Linked DNA regions of Homo sapiens: all the other regions are linked to region 1. The links are contacts of gene promoters, found by promoter capture Hi-C in blood cells and fetal thymus (Javierre and others, 2016). All regions are on one chromosome and are shown on one strand. The core of a region is centred on a gene start or on the middle of the fragment in contact, and the rest is flanking DNA. Distances in the headings are between cores, read along the strand shown. Region 1 holds the start of H2BC13 (H2B clustered histone 13). Region 2 overlaps LOC105374986 (a long non-coding RNA gene). Region 3 overlaps H4C8 (H4 clustered histone 8). Region 4 has its middle 14 kb from the start of ABT1.

Region 1 (4,047 bases), core at 718-3,217:
CCCACTGTACAATTTCACACTTTAGGCAATTTACTCGAGCTCTCTGAACCCCCATTTTATGATCTGTAAAACAGGTATAAAAATAGTAATTTTTCACAAAGTTGTTATGAAAGCTAAATGATTTAACATATGTAGAGAGCTTTTTAGGACATTATCTGGCACATGATAAGCAGTAAATAATTATGAAAAAGAGCCTTCTTATTTTTTACTAGATAGAATGATGTACTGTAATTTATTGCTAATCAGTCAAATTGCTTCAGTCTTATACTACAAACAGTGCTGCTGGAAACCCCTGCATATATTATTTTGCATATTTTCAAAAATAGTAAATTCCTAGGGGTGAAATTTCTGATGTAAAGATAGGTGCATTTTAAAATTTTGACAGGTATTACCAAATTTTCCTTTATGAAAGCACTACCAATTTGTGGGGCCACCAGCAATGATTGAGAATTAAGGTCTGGGAGGCTTATTCAGGATTTTCCATTCCTATAGCAGAATACTATGACTGGCCTATGGTGAATAGTAGATGCTTAATAAATGTTAGTAAATTGGATGGTAAATAGTATACGAAAAACAGTTGGGTTTGGGTGAAAACAAGAAAAACTTTTAAAAATCTACTCTGGCATCTTTTGCTAGCAGGCATTGACAATTAGGAGAAGGCAAGGTGTTAACTTTTACTGATCTCCCACTTTTTTTTTTGAGACAAGGCCTGGCTTTATCACCCAGGCTGGAGTGCAGTGGTGCGATCTCAGCTCACTGTAAACTCCGCCTACCAGGCTCAAGCCATCCTCCTACATCAGCCCCCTAAGTAGCTGGGACAACAGGGGCGCGCCACCACTCCTGGCTAATTTTTGTGCTTTTTGCAGAGACGGGGTTTTGCTATGTTGCCCAGGCTGGTTGCGAACTCCTGGGCTCAAGGGATCCGCCCGCCTCCACCTCCCAAAGTGCTGGGATTACAGGCATGAGCCACCGCGCCCACCCCTCTAGTTTCCAGTTTAGTCGGAAAGATTAAAAACGCCAGCCTTGTTTTCCTAGTGCTGTTTTTGGTTTTTACCTCGGGTCTTTTGTCGTGCCTTAAAATCATGTCTGGTTGCGCAAGTGAGGGAAAGGATTGGGTAAAGGGGGCGCCACCGCAAGTTGCTGTGCAACATCCAGACATCACCAGACCCACCACCTGGAGCCTGGCCTGGCGGTGTCAAACGCATTCTGGTCTCATCTTTTTAGAAACCCGTGGATGCTCAAGGAATTTCCGGATAACGTGATCCCGGATGCGCTTGACTGACTTACACGGAACGAGCAAAGCGCAAAGCAGTCCCTGCTAAGGACTTAGTTTATGCCCTCAAGCGCAAAGGTCGGACCCTCTATGGTGTTGGTAGCTATATGCACGTACCTCATGTACATTTCACCTTAAATGGCTTTCAAAGAGCTAGATTAATTTAGTGGATAGATCAAAATGATTTATGACCCCTCGCCCCCCAGTGATAGGAAGAGCGAACCAGCTCTTCTTTAGATAATAGTGAGTGGCTCTGAAAAGAGCCTTTGGGTTGGACAAGAGCTTGAGAATTTACTTGGAGCTGGTGTACTTGGTGACGGCCTTGGTGCCCTCCGACACCGCGTGCTTGGCCAGCTCCCCCGGAAGCAGCAGGCGCACGGCGGTCTGGATCTCCCTGGAGGTGATGGTCGAGCGCTTGTTGTAGTGCGCCAGGCGGGAAGCCTCGCTTGCGATGCGCTCGAAGATGTCGTTGACGAAGGAGTTCATGATTCCCATGGCCTTAGAAGAGATGCCGGTGTCGGGGTGGACCTGCTTCAGCACCTTGTACACGTACACGGAGTAGCTCTCCTTGCGGCTGCGCTTGCGCTTCTTGCCATCCTTCTTCTGGGCCTTGGTCACCGCCTTCTTGGAGCCCTTCTTCGGGGCGGGAGCAGACTTGGCCAGCTCGGGCATAATGAAACAATAGTGGCAAAACCAAAACAAGAAGTCGGTCTCCTCTTTTTATATAATAGTTTATGCGGCCGAGGTAGTGGGAAGGTCTCTGCTGATTGGTAATTATCCGTGGATGACGACAGATGCCAGTTTTGCCCAATCAAAATAGGTATCCTGCATAATCGAGTCCTATTGGTCTAAATAAAAATAAAACGTAAGCCAATCGCACAGCTTCCTTTTCGCGCCCAGTAGAGGCTATAAAATGTACGTTTTTCTAGTTTCACTTCAGTCTTTCTTGACCGTATAGATAATAGGCCTTTTGCCATGTCTGGGCGTGGCAAGCAGGGAGGCAAAGCTCGCGCCAAGGCCAAGACCCGCTCTTCTCGGGCCGGGCTTCAGTTTCCCGTAGGCCGAGTGCATCGCCTGCTCCGCAAAGGCAACTATGCGGAGCGGGTCGGTGCTGGAGCGCCGGTGTACCTGGCGGCGGTGCTGGAGTACCTGACCGCCGAGATCCTGGAGCTGGCTGGCAACGCGGCCCGCGACAACAAGAAGACTCGCATCATCCCGCGTCACCTCCAGCTGGCCATCCGCAACGATGAGGAGCTCAACAAGCTTCTGGGCAAAGTCACCATCGCACAGGGTGGCGTCCTGCCCAACATCCAGGCCGTGCTACTGCCCAAGAAGACCGAGAGCCACCACAAGGCGAAGGGCAAGTAGAAGCCTGGATTAGTTTGCAGCAACTCAATCCCAAAGGAACCAAAGGCTCTTTTCAGAGCCACCTACAATTTTGTGGAAGAACTGAGCACTATGTTTAATGTAATTTCTCGTCTTTGCCTACTTCTAAACCACTCCAAAGGTTACGTAGATCAGTCTTCGGTGTCTTGGTTAGGTAGTGACAATCTCGTTAGCTTTATAAAAAGCCTGGATAACATTAAAAGTATTAAACACGCCTTCATCTTAAGCTTAGTGGAAGAAAATTTAGTTTTTCCTAAGCTGGCATTATCCAAGTATGTTGAATTCTGTATGGTTCACCGTCGGGTTTTACTTTTAGTCTGTTGAAGCAAACATGTCTGCTTTGGGGCCAGATGTTTTCTGGGTCTTGGTAAATAACAAACCGGGCATTCGACGTTCAATCCAAATCTAGATCAACGACTTGGATTCTTCATTTCTGAGAAATATCTCTCGAATCTGTATAATTAATTGCATTTGAACATTAATGATTGAGTTGAGAATAATTATTAGACTAATTAGAACAGTTACTTATGGTGCCAGGTAGTTCTCTTTGAAGCATTTTCTGAAAATTCATTGAAATTAAAATTTCCCGAGCTTTCCCACCCCCAGCCACACAAATTGATTTCTTAGTACAGAGATGACTTAATTTGTTTCAGCATGGTAAATTCCACTTTTAAAATATCTGACTTGATGTTTTTAATCTGAATCAGATCTGGATGTACGAATGGAATAGATTCTTAAAAGAAAATGAATTACATTTCTAGAGTATTGGAAAAATAAGCTGCAATGGAATTACTTTAATCTAAAAGTGAAAAGTTCACATAAAGTTGTTTCTTTGACATTTTTTGGCCTTGAATTTCTCACATGCGAACCAGCTTTTCTTGGTTATAAAAATAGAAGTTTTTTAAATTTAAGTGGTCAAAAGATAGAAAATTGAGGGGACAGGTGTATAAGGCTGTCCTGTCCAGTATTGCAGCCACTAGCCAATTGTGGATAGTGATCATTGGAAATTCCATAGCATGAATTTTATATAAAATACACATTGCATTTGGAAAAGTCAGTGCCAAAAAGTGTAAAATACCTAACAATTTTAATTTCGATAACATTGAAATATGTTGGCTATATTGGATTAAGCAAAATATTAAAAATTAATTTTTCCTTGTTTTGTTACAATGTTCTCCTAGATAAGTGTAAATTACTTATATTGCTCTCATTTCCACTGGAAATCGCTAGTATAGTGAACAACTGTATAGCGAAAATAGAAAATAAAATATGGAGACCATGAACTGCTAAGTCTGTCAGAGGAATAGGTGAACAACAAAAATTTGAGTCCTTCGCCAATCCGGTTACTGTTGGGTAGGCCTTCAGCATACTTTTGTCCAATCAGCTTC
Region 2 (4,047 bases), core at 902-3,401, 1.5 Mb before region 1:
AAAAAAGAGAACTCAAGTTATCTCATCTCTCTCAAGCTTAATGTGTTTTGGGAATTCCAACAGCTGGTTTTTTTGTGTGTTTTTTTTTCTTAAGGAAATGAGGTCTCATTTTGTCACCCAGCCTGGAGTGCAGTGGCACAATCATAGCTCACTGCAGCCTCCAGCTCATATCTCTAATGACTCTCCCACCTCAGCCTCCAGAGTAGGACGGGCTACAGGAATGCACCATCACATCATATTTTATTTATTTTCACAAACTATAGCACAGCAGTGGAATATGCTTAACATTAGGAGAGTTTTGAGACCCACTACCCGGGTTGAAATTTGTTACATCATTTTTATTAACTGGATGACTTTAGGCATTATGCAGAAACATTCAGCTTGTTTCCTCATTTACAAAATAGAAACAATGGATTTTCGTAATGATGAGGCGATTGCTCAAGCTTAGTTAGAGTTGGGTCTAACAAAGAATTCTGACTTCTATTTCACTTTTCTTTCTACCAGTATCAAGAACAAAATGGGGGCTTCTGCACAGCAACTTCAGAAGATAAGCAGATTTTCTGGAAATGGATTTAGAGCAAGAGAGGATATCTAAAATCAAAGATATATGACACTGCTGGGGCTCAGAAACTGATATCCCAAAATATTGCACTTTGACATGCTGAACTGAAGAAGCTACAAGGTCTCTCTGACCTTCTCCCCACCCCTCCTGTCTCTCAATCCTTTCCGTCTCCCAAAGCACAGGATGAAGTTGTTTTCAGAAGTTCCTTATCTGCCTAAAGTCCAAACCTGCCAAAGAATACAATTATCTTTAGTCTCTACTCTGAGTTTTCATTAAATGAACTAATATCACAGGGAGAAACACAAGCCTGTCAACAAACCTAGATAGATTTTGTCACAAACCACTGTCTACTCTGCAGCCCTAACAGACATTGTCCCAGGCCCTTGCATGTTCTTCAAGCCCATTGAATTCCCCTACAAATCATTTATTATATCCCTAAAAACACTTCTCAAGCTCCCATTTCCCTAGGAAGTAGAATAAACATCTATGTCCAATTGCAGTATTGGGTGATCACTCTATCCACCCCCCTCTGCAGTGTACACGTTAATAATTTCATATGCCTTTTATTAATTCTGGTCATTAATTTAACCTTTTTCTTCTTTGGGGCCCACGTTGAAACCTCTATTTTCAACTTCTCTTCCAGTTAGGTGTGGCCTTTTAGCTAAGTTCCTGCCAATGGAACATAAACACAAGTAAAGATTGACATTTCCAGGCCTGGGACATAATAACTTTCCACGAAGGATTTTTCCATGTTCTTTCCCCTTGCAGGGCAAATGTAGAAGCCACATTTAGGATGGCTAAGCCACAAAGACAGAGGGCATCTAGGTTCCAGAACCACTGCTAGAAGAAAGAGGGACCTGCTGATCTAGAATACCCTTTTTGAACCTCATATCCGCAGAAAATAAACTTGTATTTATCTTAACTAGTATGCTCTGCACCAAAGAAGGGTCTAGATTCTTAATTTCTAAAAGGAAATGCATTCACTTGTTGCTGGATGAATCTTCAGGTCAAAACACTTCATCTGTAAAAGAAACATAAGATTTCATGGAGAGAAACAAAGCAAAATGTGGACTTCTTAAGAGTTAACCAGAGGAGAGGAAGCTATATTCACATCTATCAGCAGTAGAACTTCTGTCCACAGCCTAGTGATCTTTCAAATGTGGATGTGACCATAAGGATGAGGTAGTTTCATTGGATATGTTGCCTCTTGGGTCCTCCATTAGAAAAGCATAAGGAGGGTTGGATGCGGTGACTCACATCTATAATTGCAGCACTTTGGGATGCTGAGGCAGGAGGATCACTTGAGCCCAGGAGTTCAAGACCAGCCTGGGTAATATAACGAGACCTCATCTCTATATTTAAAGAAAAAAAAATTAAATAAAATCAGTAAGGCGGCCGGGGGTGATGGCTCATGCCTGTAATCCAACACTTTGGGAGAGAGAGGTGGGAAGATTGCTTGAGGCAAGGAGTTTGAGACTTCAGTGAGCTAGGATCATGCCACTGCAGTCCAGCCTGGATAACAGAGCAAGACTGTCTCAAAGAAAAAAAAAAGAAAAAGAAAAGGAAAAGAAAAGAGAAAAGAAAAATAAGAAAAGAAAAGCTCAAGGAGAAAACAGAGACTCTATAATATTGACATTGCTCCCCAAAAGTCTCGTAGAATAATCTGGGTAAATTTTGTAAGACACCAGATATGTCTTTTTTCCTCTAACTGCACTTAACCAAAAAAGTGAAAGTAATTGATAGTCCATTTTTGACAGTTATAATCATAAATAAAATCCCTGGATCTCATATCGGACAATAGTCTCACTCAATATGAAGGATTAAGAAGAAATGTGATCTCTCAATTTTTTGTCAAGGTTTATCTAGGGCTCAAAATCAGTAGCTGGGAACATGTATCATCTTCATCATAATTTAATTTTGTTTTATTATGGATTCGGCCATCACATTATAACCATTATAGAAATTTTAATGTGGAGTTCTGTTGCTAGTAGGAGCAGTTTTCTTTGTACTTTGGAGCTCATCCGTAGATATCTAGTATAATGAAATCTCAGAAAATGTTACAGCATATAAAGCCTTGTAAAGATTACATTGGTTTCTTTCATGTGAAAAGTAAAATGATAGCAATTTTGCAGATCTCTTATTTTTTATTTTAAATAAATTATCATATAATAATACTCTTTCCTTAACTACTGGTATCCTTGAATAAGGCGAGCAGTCTTCCATGGGGTTAGCACTCATTGCTTATCTTTTCCTGCCCCTGCCTCTTGATTCACTGTCTTAACTGAATGTCCTTGGGTATCTGGAGCAACACGTTTGAAAAATTAAAATGTATGAATCAGGCCGGGTTCAGTGGCTCATGCCTGTAATCCCAGCACGTTGGGAGGCCAAGGTGGGGAGATCACCTGAGGTCAGGAGTTCAAGACCAACCTGGCCAACATGGCGAAACCACATCTCTACTAAAAAAAAAAATACAAAACTTAGCCAGGCGTGCAGGCACCTGTATTCCCAGCTACTTGGGAGGCTGAGGCAGGGAGAAGTGCTTGAACCTGGGAGGCGGAGGTTACAGTGAGCCGAGATCCTGCCACTGCACTCCAGCCTGGGCAACAGAGTGAGACTCTGTCTCAAAAAAAAAAAAAAAAAAAAAAGAAGGCAGGGCGCGGTGGCTCACTCCTGTAATCCCAGCACTTTGGGAGGCCAAGGTGGGTGGATCACCTGAGGTCAGGAGTTGGAAACAAGCCTGACTAACATGGCAAAACCCCATCTCTACTAAAGATACAAAAATTAGCTGGACATTGTGGCACATGCCTGTAATCCCAGCTACTCAGGAGGCTGAGGCAGGAGAATCACTTGAACCCGGGAGGCGGAGGTTGCAGAGAGCCGAGATCGTGCCATTGCACTCCAGCCTGGGCAACAAGAACGAAACTCCGTCTCAAAAAAAAAAAGTATAAATCAGTACTGAGTTACCTGGAAATTCCAGCTTAAGAAAAACAAAGGCCCTGGTTTTATGTAGTTGGCTATCAGAACAATGTCCATAGCCCAAATATGCACCCAACTCAGGATCCATGAATCAATGTTTCTTCTCTCTGGTATGATCTTCCTACAGCTGTATAAAGAACTCACTCTCTTCTCTGCTCAGTCTTGTCAGGACCAAGAAAAATCTTCGCCTTCACCCTCTGAAGTTTTTCTCAAAAATCAATTACCAAAAAACAGATTAATAGGAGAGAAAGGCACACAAGTTTATTAACATGCAGGAGGGAGAACCACAGAGTAATTACCCCAACCCCAGCAGGGGGTACAGAAGCTTAAATGCCATCTTTAGGTTAAAGAATGGGGACTCAGAGCATGGCCAAAAACAGGTTAGGGTGGTCAATCATGCAAGACAGGTTATGGGAGGGCTTTGCTAACAAAGGTGGTCTTGTTATGTAGATGAAAACTCATAGGTAACAGCCCTCAAGAAGAATACATATATAGTAAATGTTTCTTTC
Region 3 (4,047 bases), core at 1,466-3,965, 1.5 Mb before region 1:
TAATAAAGGTGAGTGTTGGCAGTGGCTTGACCAGAGCAGAAGTGGGAATGAAACAGTTGGATTCTGTTTGTTTTCAAAGAAGAGCTCATAGAACTTACTGATGGATTGTTATGTAGGATGTGAAAGAAAACCACAGAAATGACTCCAACTAAAACAGTAAAATGCCATTCACTAATTTCAAGATGATGAGAGAAGCTGTTTTGCAGAGATAATGAAAGAAATTCTGTTTGAAGCCTATTAAAGTTTGAAGTGCATATTAATTGGACTTTCAAGTTGAGATGTCAAGTAAGTAGCAGGGTCTCTGAGTATGGAATACAAGGCTGTGGGCTAGTGACTTAACGTCTGCAACATCAACATATAGGCAGCATCTCCATAGCAACAAACATCAGTTCAAAATAATCAGACAGATTTTCATCCTCCACGTCCATCTTCTCAGATCCATCAGGAGCCACAGAACTAAGGGAAGAAAAAAGGCAGCATCAAATACAGAGCTTTCAAGCTGAGATCCACAAATACGTTTCAGGAGGCCTGAGAACTCCTGGAATTGCAAGCAAAATATATGGGGAAAGTGGGCACATTTTGAAAAAGGTGTGAATATCTATCACTGGGTCTCCAAAGTAACCCCTTCATGGCTCTAACTTTAATAGGTTATTTGAATGAAAATTGCAATATTATTGCATACCCTTATTACCAAGGGCATTTTTCCACATTTGTAAAATAGGGATAACTTTTTCTGTTTGTTCCAAAAATTACAGAAACAGAATTACTAAATAAAGCACTTGTAAAACTGTAAGTTAGGAATCCAGATGTCGTATGTACAAAGCAAACATTCCTTACTTCCTTAACCCAGGGCCCAGTCCTTGCACTGCTTCTTCTTCATTATCAATCCTCTTTTCCTAACAGATATCATTTCACCTTCTGGCTTTTTTACCCTCATGGGAGTAAAAACTCAATCTATGTTTTCAGCCCAGACCTCTTTTCTGAAATCCAGATTTATATATCAAACTGTTTACTTTGTATCTTCCTCTTAGATATGTGTAATAAGCATCTGACACTCTCTCTGGATGTCCAAAACTAAGATATGGAATTCTTTCCAAAACTTGTTCCTTCAGTATTCTTCCCCATTTTAGCAATTGATACCTCCATTTCAGTTGCTGTCAATGAAATCACTGGAATCATCCATAAATTTTCTTTCTCTCATACTCTACACATTCAGTGACTCAGAAACGAACTATCAACCTTCTTTCAAAATAAACAAAGAATCCAACAACTTTTCACAGCCTCTACCACTAATACACTGGTCCAAGCCACTGCCATCTAAACTCCTTTATTTTAGTACCCTCCTAACTGGTCTCTGCTCCTATCCAGGTTCCATCACAGTTTATTCTTCATCAGGCATCCAGACAGCTCATTCTAAAATATAAATCAGATCAACTCAGTCCTCTGCTCAAAACCCTGAGTGGCTCCCACCTCACTAGGAATAAAAGCCAAAGTAGTTACACCGCCCATATAGGAACTGCTCGCCTCCATTTGCCTTTCAGACCTCATCTCCTTTCCTCTGCACCCTTCTCGCCTCCATTTGCCTTTCAGACCTCATCTCCATTCCTCTGCACCTCTTCTGCCCTTTTGCCCAGACACAATAACTCTCTGCTATCTCCAGGCTTTGCTACTTGGTCGTCTATTTGGAATATTCTCTCGTCTTTTTTTCTGCAACCATCGCTCTATCAGTAAAGCTTTCCATGACTCTATCATTTAAAATTATCACGTTCTCGACTGGGCGCGGTGGCTCACACCTGTAATCCCAGCACTTTGGGAGGCCGAGGTGGGCGGATCACATGAGGCAGGAATTCAGGACCAGCCTAACCCCATAAGTACTAAAAATACAAAAATTAGCTGCGTGTGGTAGCGCATGCTTGTAATCCCAGCTACTCGGGAGGCTGAGACACTAGAATTGCTTGAACCCAAGCGAGGCGGAGGTGGAATGTGCCGAGATCGCGCCACTGCACTGCAGCCTGGGCAACAGAGCAAGACCCTATCTCAAAAAAAATAACTAATTAAACATCACCTCCTCCCTCCACACGTCTTTAGCCTGTTTCAGTGATAGCACTTAGCACCATCTGATAGTTTCACTTACTTTGCGTGTGAAAGCACACCCAACAGACGCCATGCATACAGAAAATACTGTTTTGTTCACTGTCATTCACTCCTATACTTCTCAGAGCCATGAACAGTACCTGGCATACGTTATGTGCTCAATTTTTGTTGTTAAATTTATATCCTCATACAAACCAGTGCCTTAGCTCTGATAACATCGTTCTTTTCATATTAATGTACAAGTGCATATCTTTAAAAAAGATGAAACCCTAACTCCATTGATTTTCTCGATTTCAAAGTTATAACCCTACAATTTGCTTGCTGACCACAAAGAGGAAAAATCTGATTTTACAATGGAACTATCATCCTAAAGCAGCAATTGTCCTATTATCTTCAACGTAGATAAACCAGACATATGTCTCTGTATAAACTGACAAGCATATTAACCTGATTTCAACTAAGTATATAAAAGTCACTTCTGCTCAGGACAGAGTATAGAAGCCAAGTAAAATGATGCCGTAAGAAAAGCCAATCCAGGCCGGGCGCGGTGGCTCACGCCTGTAATCCCAACACTTTGGGAAGCCGAGGCGGGCGGATCACGAGCTCAAGAGATGGAGACCATTCTGGCCAACATGGTGAAACCCCACCTATACTTAAAAATACCAAAATTAGCTGGGCGTGGTGGCGCGAGCCTGTAGTCACTTGGGAGGCTAAGGCAGTAGAATCGCTTGAACTCGGGAGGCAGAAGTTCCAGTGAGCCGAGATCACGCCACTTCACTCCAGCATGGCGAAGGTGAGACTCCGCCTCAAAAAAGGAAAAAAAAAGCCAATCCAAATCTCCTACAAGTTTGGTCTCTAGCAAATCATTGTCCTGATGCCTGAATGTGTACTTTTTCAAAAGGCGATCATTGCTGGTTAAGAATTTAAGTTTTCGTGGCCGGGCGCAGTGCCTCATGCCTGTAATCCCAACACTTTTGGGAGGTCGAGGCGGGTGGATCACGAGATCAGGAGTTCGAGACCAGCCTGGCCAACATGGTGAAACCCCATCTCTACTAAAAACACAAAAATTAGGCGGGCGGCTGTAATACCAGCTATTCAGGAGGCTGAGGCAGGAGAATCGCTTGAAACTGTAAGGCGGAGGTTGCGGTGAGCCGAAATCGCGCCACTGCACTCCAGCCTGGATGAAAGAGCAAAACTCCGTCTCAACAACAACAAAATAAGTTATGGTGATGTTTCTATATTGCTCACTAAGCGGTACCCTACCTTTTAATATTTTCGTAATATTCAAAAACACATTTTAAGTCTATTGGAAACAATACTTGCAAGCTCTCAAGTGAACATTTATATTGTTACCCCACACTGCCTTTTGTAGACGAGTTTTGTCACCAAGTCAAAAGCAGCAGCGCGCACGCCGCCTGGACTTGGGTCTGCGATCCTACTCACGCAGATGTGTTGCGCTCACGGATTCGCCTTGGTTTAAGGCCCGCCGTCTGGGTGCGAGCTTTCTTTGTTTTTAGCCCTTCCCGCCATTTTGGAAAGGGTAACTTGCAGTCTCTCCGCGAAGTTTCCAACTTCTGTAGTCTTTGAGAACCTTACGAACGCTTCAAGCTTAAACTGAAGGAGGAAGGCCCACGGGAATTATAAACTGTCACAATCCAGCTTACTCACTGATATCTAGTGTTAAAATGCCACAAGAAAGCTAAACATATTCAACATACCAACTTCCCTCAAGCAGAAAACAGTGGCTTTAAGTACTTTATGCCCAAATCCTAAACATGCGAGATTAAGCACGAGTAATTAAACGTTACCTGCAAATCTACACATGTGCACAGTAACTACTTCTCAGCAAAAATCTGGAACAAAGCAGGATAACAAGATGTCTGCTCTTTTATGAAAAAAGTGGGCGGCCCTGAAAAGGGCCTTTGGTTGAAAATGAAAATAAGAGTGCAGCAA
Region 4 (4,047 bases), core at 688-3,187, 1.2 Mb before region 1:
GTTATAAGAATACTAGAACCTGAAAAATGCAAGCAATCTGAACGATCTTGGAAGGAGAATTTTTTTACAAGCCTCCAAATAAGAGTCCAGCCCAGCTAACACCTTGACTTTGGCCTCGTGAGGTCCTGAGCAGAGCACCCAGTTGGAATACTCTGTGCCCAGACTCCTAGCTCAAAGTGCTGTGAAATAATAAATGGGTGGTGTTTTAAGCTGCCAAGCTTGAGGTGATTTATTATGGAGGCAGTGTAAAACTAATTTATCATCTTTCATGCAAGTCAATTCCTCCTCCAACTCAAAGAGCAAATATACACAAATGTCAGACAAAGTCACAAGAGAAAGGCTTTTCATAAGCAAACCAGGGGAGACAGAGATGAGTCTAGTAAAACAAATGGGGAAGGAAGGGGAGGTGACAGCTGTAAGCAGCAATGGGCATTCGGCCCACTCCAAAATTGTAGGAAAACTGTCTAAGAGGTTCTTTCTCAAGGAGCAAGGAATCTGACTGATGTTTTCCAGGCTAACAGTCTTAAACCTCTAGGTGTTTAAGGCTAAATGGGCAGAGAGAGGATGGGGATGGAACATCATTTTTCTTTTCTTTTCTTGTTTTTTTTTTTGTTTTTTTTTTTCTTTTTTTTTTTTTCGACGGAGTTTCACTCTTGTTGCCCAGGCTGGAGTGCAATGGCATGATCTTGGCTCACCGCAACCTCTGCATCCCAGGTTCAAGTGATTTTCCTGCCTCAGTCTCCTGGGTGGCTGGGATTACAGGCATGTGCCACCACGCCCAGCTAGTTTTGCATTTTTAGTGGAGACAGGGTTTCTCCTTGTTGGTCAGGCTGGTCTCAAACTCCCGACCTCAGGTGATCCACCTGCCTCAGCCTCCCAAAGTGCTGGGATTACAGGCGTGAGCCACCGTGCCCAGTCTGAGTATTATCTTTCTAAGGGACAGTGCAGACTTGGTGGGAGGCAGTCATTCAGCAGGAGTAGCATCCACAGTGTCTCTCAGGGGATGATCAATGTTTCCCAAGGATAAGCTAGATTCAAGATTTTCTTAGAGCTCCTCCAAGGACTGTGTATGAACAACTAGTGAAATGTGGACAAACAGGCTCCCTACGAAGCCAGAGGGGGCCGGGCCTGGTGGCTCACACTTGTAATCCCTGCACTTTGGGAGGCCAAGGTGGGCGGATCACTTGAGACCAGGAGTTTGAGACCAGCCTGGCCAATCTGGCGAAACTCCATCAAAAAAAGCCAGAGGAAGAAAACCACACTTTAAAGCCAGACCAAGGAAGGGAAAGATTAAAGGCAAATGCAATTTCCCACCCCCAAGATGCAAGTGAGGAAAGACTATCTTCCCTTTTCTTCAGGCAAGCATATTCCCAGGGAAAAGCAGGAAGGTAAGACTCCTATCTGAGCTTACATATTGAAAAGAGAAATGCCGGCCGGGCGCGGTGGCTCAAGCCTGTAATCCCAGCACTTTGGGAAGCTGAGCTGGGTGGATCACTTGAGGTCAGGAGTTTGAGACCAGCCTGGCAAACATGGTGAAATTCCTTCTCTACTGAAAATACAAAAATTAGCTGGGTGTGGTGGAGGGCGCTTGTAATCCCAGCTACTTGGGAGGTTGGGGCAGGAGAATCACTTGAACCTGGGAGGCAGAGGCTGCAGTGAGCTGAGATCGCAGCACTGCACTCCAGCCTAGGTGGCAGAGGGATGCTGTCTCAAAAAACAAAAAGTAAATAAAAATAAAAAATAAATAAAATAAAAAGAGAAGTGTCAATAGCATGGGCAGAAAAGTTGTGGAAATTTCCCAAAGGTTGTTGCTTCTGGGCTTGCAGCTGTGGCTGAGCTCTTGTCTTATATCCCAAACTGATGGAAAATGAAGGTGCTGGTGCTCTGACAGGTCCTTCTCCCACTGAACCCTAGTCAGGGGGCATTGGTTCCCTAGGGGCACTTCTGCTGCTTAACAGGCCCACTCTAAGCAGGACACTCTGACTGAGGCAGCAGTGAAGAGGTTTCGAAACCCAGGCTTACTCTGTGGTGCTGTCTCCTTTGAAGGAAAATCATGTGCCCTGAATAAAGGATCCTGGGTGTTCAGGACCAAGTATACCCCAAAAGACTGATGGCACCAGTGGTCCTACTAGGGCCTGCTTCACTGATGAATGCTCCAGAAATGGAACTCCTGACTGAGCTAGACAGACCTATCCTAAAGCACCAGTGCCTTAGGATTGGCATTTCTCCAAAAGGAAGGCTCATGGGGCTGTGCTATCAAACGCTGAGCCAGTGGCCTCATTGTCAGGTGACTGTGTGGGACCCAAGTGGCCTTCTTTCTTTCTTTTAGATTGGGCTTCTATACTAGCCTAAATATAGATGGATCAGAAGATCCAGAAGGATCTGTATATGTAGGAGAATTAAGGGTTGGGATGCTTACAGGAATTGGTTTAGAGCAGGGATGGTTGGGGACTTGGCAGACCTGTCAGCCTGAGGGGTCAGAGGTGGCTTGGTGGGGTCAGTGATGAGTAATGTGGTAGAAGCAGGAGTCAACCAGGAGTAAGTGACTGTTGGCCTCAAGTCTGAAGAGGTGCCTGGAAGTGTCTCTGACTTCGAGGACACCAAAGGGGTCAGCAAGCTGGATGTCTCCTGAGGCAAAGCAGCCACACAGGTTATCCCTCCAGTGGACTATAGGAAGGCCAGTGGGCCTGGGGTATTCTGCATCACTTTCAAGCTCTCCAGCTTGGATTAGTGCTCCCAAATGGAGGGGTAGTTGGAAATGGTGCAGTCCCAGCAGCAGGTAGGGTGACAGAAAGGATGGGCTGAGTGGCAGGCACAATCTCAGGATAGTCATTGGTGGCCTCAGTCTGCTCCTTTATGACTTCGTTGACCTACCAGAGTGCAGCTTTCTTGTCCAAGTTTTCTGCAGTGACTGCATAACCAAGTTGGGGAGTTGAAGACAGGATACCCTCCCCCTATGGCTTAGAAGGCTGTAGCAAAGTTTTGCTTTCATGAGGCCCAGAACTAACAGATGTGGGCGATGTATTCCTTGAGTTTTGCTTTGTTTTCTTCTGTGAGGGAGTGTCTGCAGCCTGAACCTCATTGTTTAATCCCTATACAGCAAAGTGTGGACAGATGTTTTTCTGTGCCTTTTTGTTTGTTTTTGAGAGGGAGTCTTGCTCTGACGCCAGGCTGGAGTTCAGTGGCATGATCTAAGCTCACTGCAACCTTAGCCTCCTGGGTTCAAGCTCTTCTGTGCCTTTTTTAGGGGAAGAGGATAATGAGTACTTTAGACATCAGGAGGGATGTGAAATTGCAAACTGGGACCTCCTCTCTTCCCTGTCTTTGAAATGTTTCCAGGAGAGCTGTAGGAGCTGCCAATGTCATTTCTGTTGGAGCTGAGGGGACCACTTGGGAATATGCTGGTCAAGGGGCTCTTGGAGGGATGATGAGACTTATTCTAGTGGTCATCTGAGCTCTGGGAATGGAGGTTTGGCTTCAAGGGACTCGGGCACCAAATAAACAGGGATCCCATTGGCTATCACAGTTGAATGTGAATATCTGGTCTCCTGGAGACTTGTTTTCCTGTCCTGGCTCAGGGAATATTGGGTCTTCCACTTTCATTTTTTTGCATTCTCTGAGGGCCTCGGTTTGATTTTTTGTGCCATAAGGGTCTGGAAGCTTTAAGGGTGCTTAGCTCAAAGTCGGCTTTGGTACTGGAAACTGGCTCACTTGGATGAGGTCAGGGGAAGCAATCTTGATGGTCACCAGGCTCCTGCAGGGTGACCTCCTGGCTAATCTGTGGAAGGGAGTGGGGCGAAACACATCAATGTATTGAACACTGCAGGGTCGTAGAGAGCCAGCGGCTGGCGGGCTTCTCCGAAAGCTCCTGGTCCCCCTAGGAAGGCGGCGGTGAGGGATCAGGCTTCTCCATGTAGAACTACCTTTGGTGAGTGATGTGGCTGGACCTGGGTTTTCGAGCTGGATACTGCCTCCAGGGAGTTTTCATTGGCTGCCGATGAGACCCCGCGCGAAGTGCACAGTGTTCTGGTGACAGGTGACCGTCAG

Evidence for each region. Contacts are between HindIII fragments. The CHiCAGO score rates a contact against its expected background, and 5 or more counts as called.
Region 2: a contact is called between a fragment that was not itself captured here and the fragment with the promoter of H2BC13 in region 1, in 2 of 17 cell types (neutrophils and monocytes). The highest score is 7.2, in neutrophils.
Region 3: a fragment that was not itself captured here is called in contact with the fragment with the promoter of H2BC13 in region 1 in 1 of 17 cell types (erythroblasts); the score reaches 5.6 in erythroblasts.
Region 4: a contact is called between a fragment that was not itself captured here and the fragment with the promoter of H2BC13 in region 1, in 3 of 17 cell types (non-activated CD4 T cells, M1 macrophages and activated CD4 T cells). The highest score is 6.4, in non-activated CD4 T cells.

The regions. Positions count from the first base shown.
Region 1 is chr6:27,805,962-27,810,008 of GRCh38, forward strand. H2BC13 (H2B clustered histone 13) reads right to left here and starts at 1,968. Exons shown (of 1, transcript NM_003519.4): 1 at 1,518-1,968. The coding sequence starts at 1,945. The coding sequence ends at 1,565. H2AC13 (H2A clustered histone 13) reads left to right here and starts at 2,212. Exons shown (of 1, transcript NM_003509.3): 1 at 2,212-2,706. The coding sequence starts at 2,249. The coding sequence ends at 2,641. It also overlaps the pseudogene H4C10P. RefSeq lists enhancers at 673-1,273, 1,274-1,873, 1,436-1,535, 1,786-2,015, 2,356-2,555 and 3 more. The HindIII fragment of the contact is 5,899 bases long and covers 1-2,534 here.
Region 2 is chr6:26,260,868-26,264,914 of GRCh38, forward strand. It overlaps LOC105374986 (a long non-coding RNA gene), which reads left to right. Exons shown (of 3, transcript XR_926613.3): 3 at 505-1,061. Among named protein-coding and RNA genes, the nearest start is that of H3C8, 8.5 kb to the right of the region's middle. The HindIII fragment of the contact is 3,420 bases long and covers 442-3,861 here.
Region 3 is chr6:26,281,132-26,285,178 of GRCh38, forward strand. It overlaps H4C8 (H4 clustered histone 8), which reads right to left. Exons shown (of 1, transcript NM_003543.4): 1 at 3,995-4,047. Among named protein-coding and RNA genes, the nearest start is that of H4C8, 2.4 kb to the right of the region's middle. RefSeq lists enhancers at 3,244-3,979, 3,688-4,047, 3,980-4,047. The HindIII fragment of the contact is 1,969 bases long and covers 1,732-3,700 here.
Region 4 is chr6:26,609,422-26,613,468 of GRCh38, forward strand. No RefSeq gene overlaps it. Among named protein-coding and RNA genes, the nearest start is that of ABT1, 14 kb to the left of the region's middle. The HindIII fragment of the contact is 3,442 bases long and covers 217-3,658 here.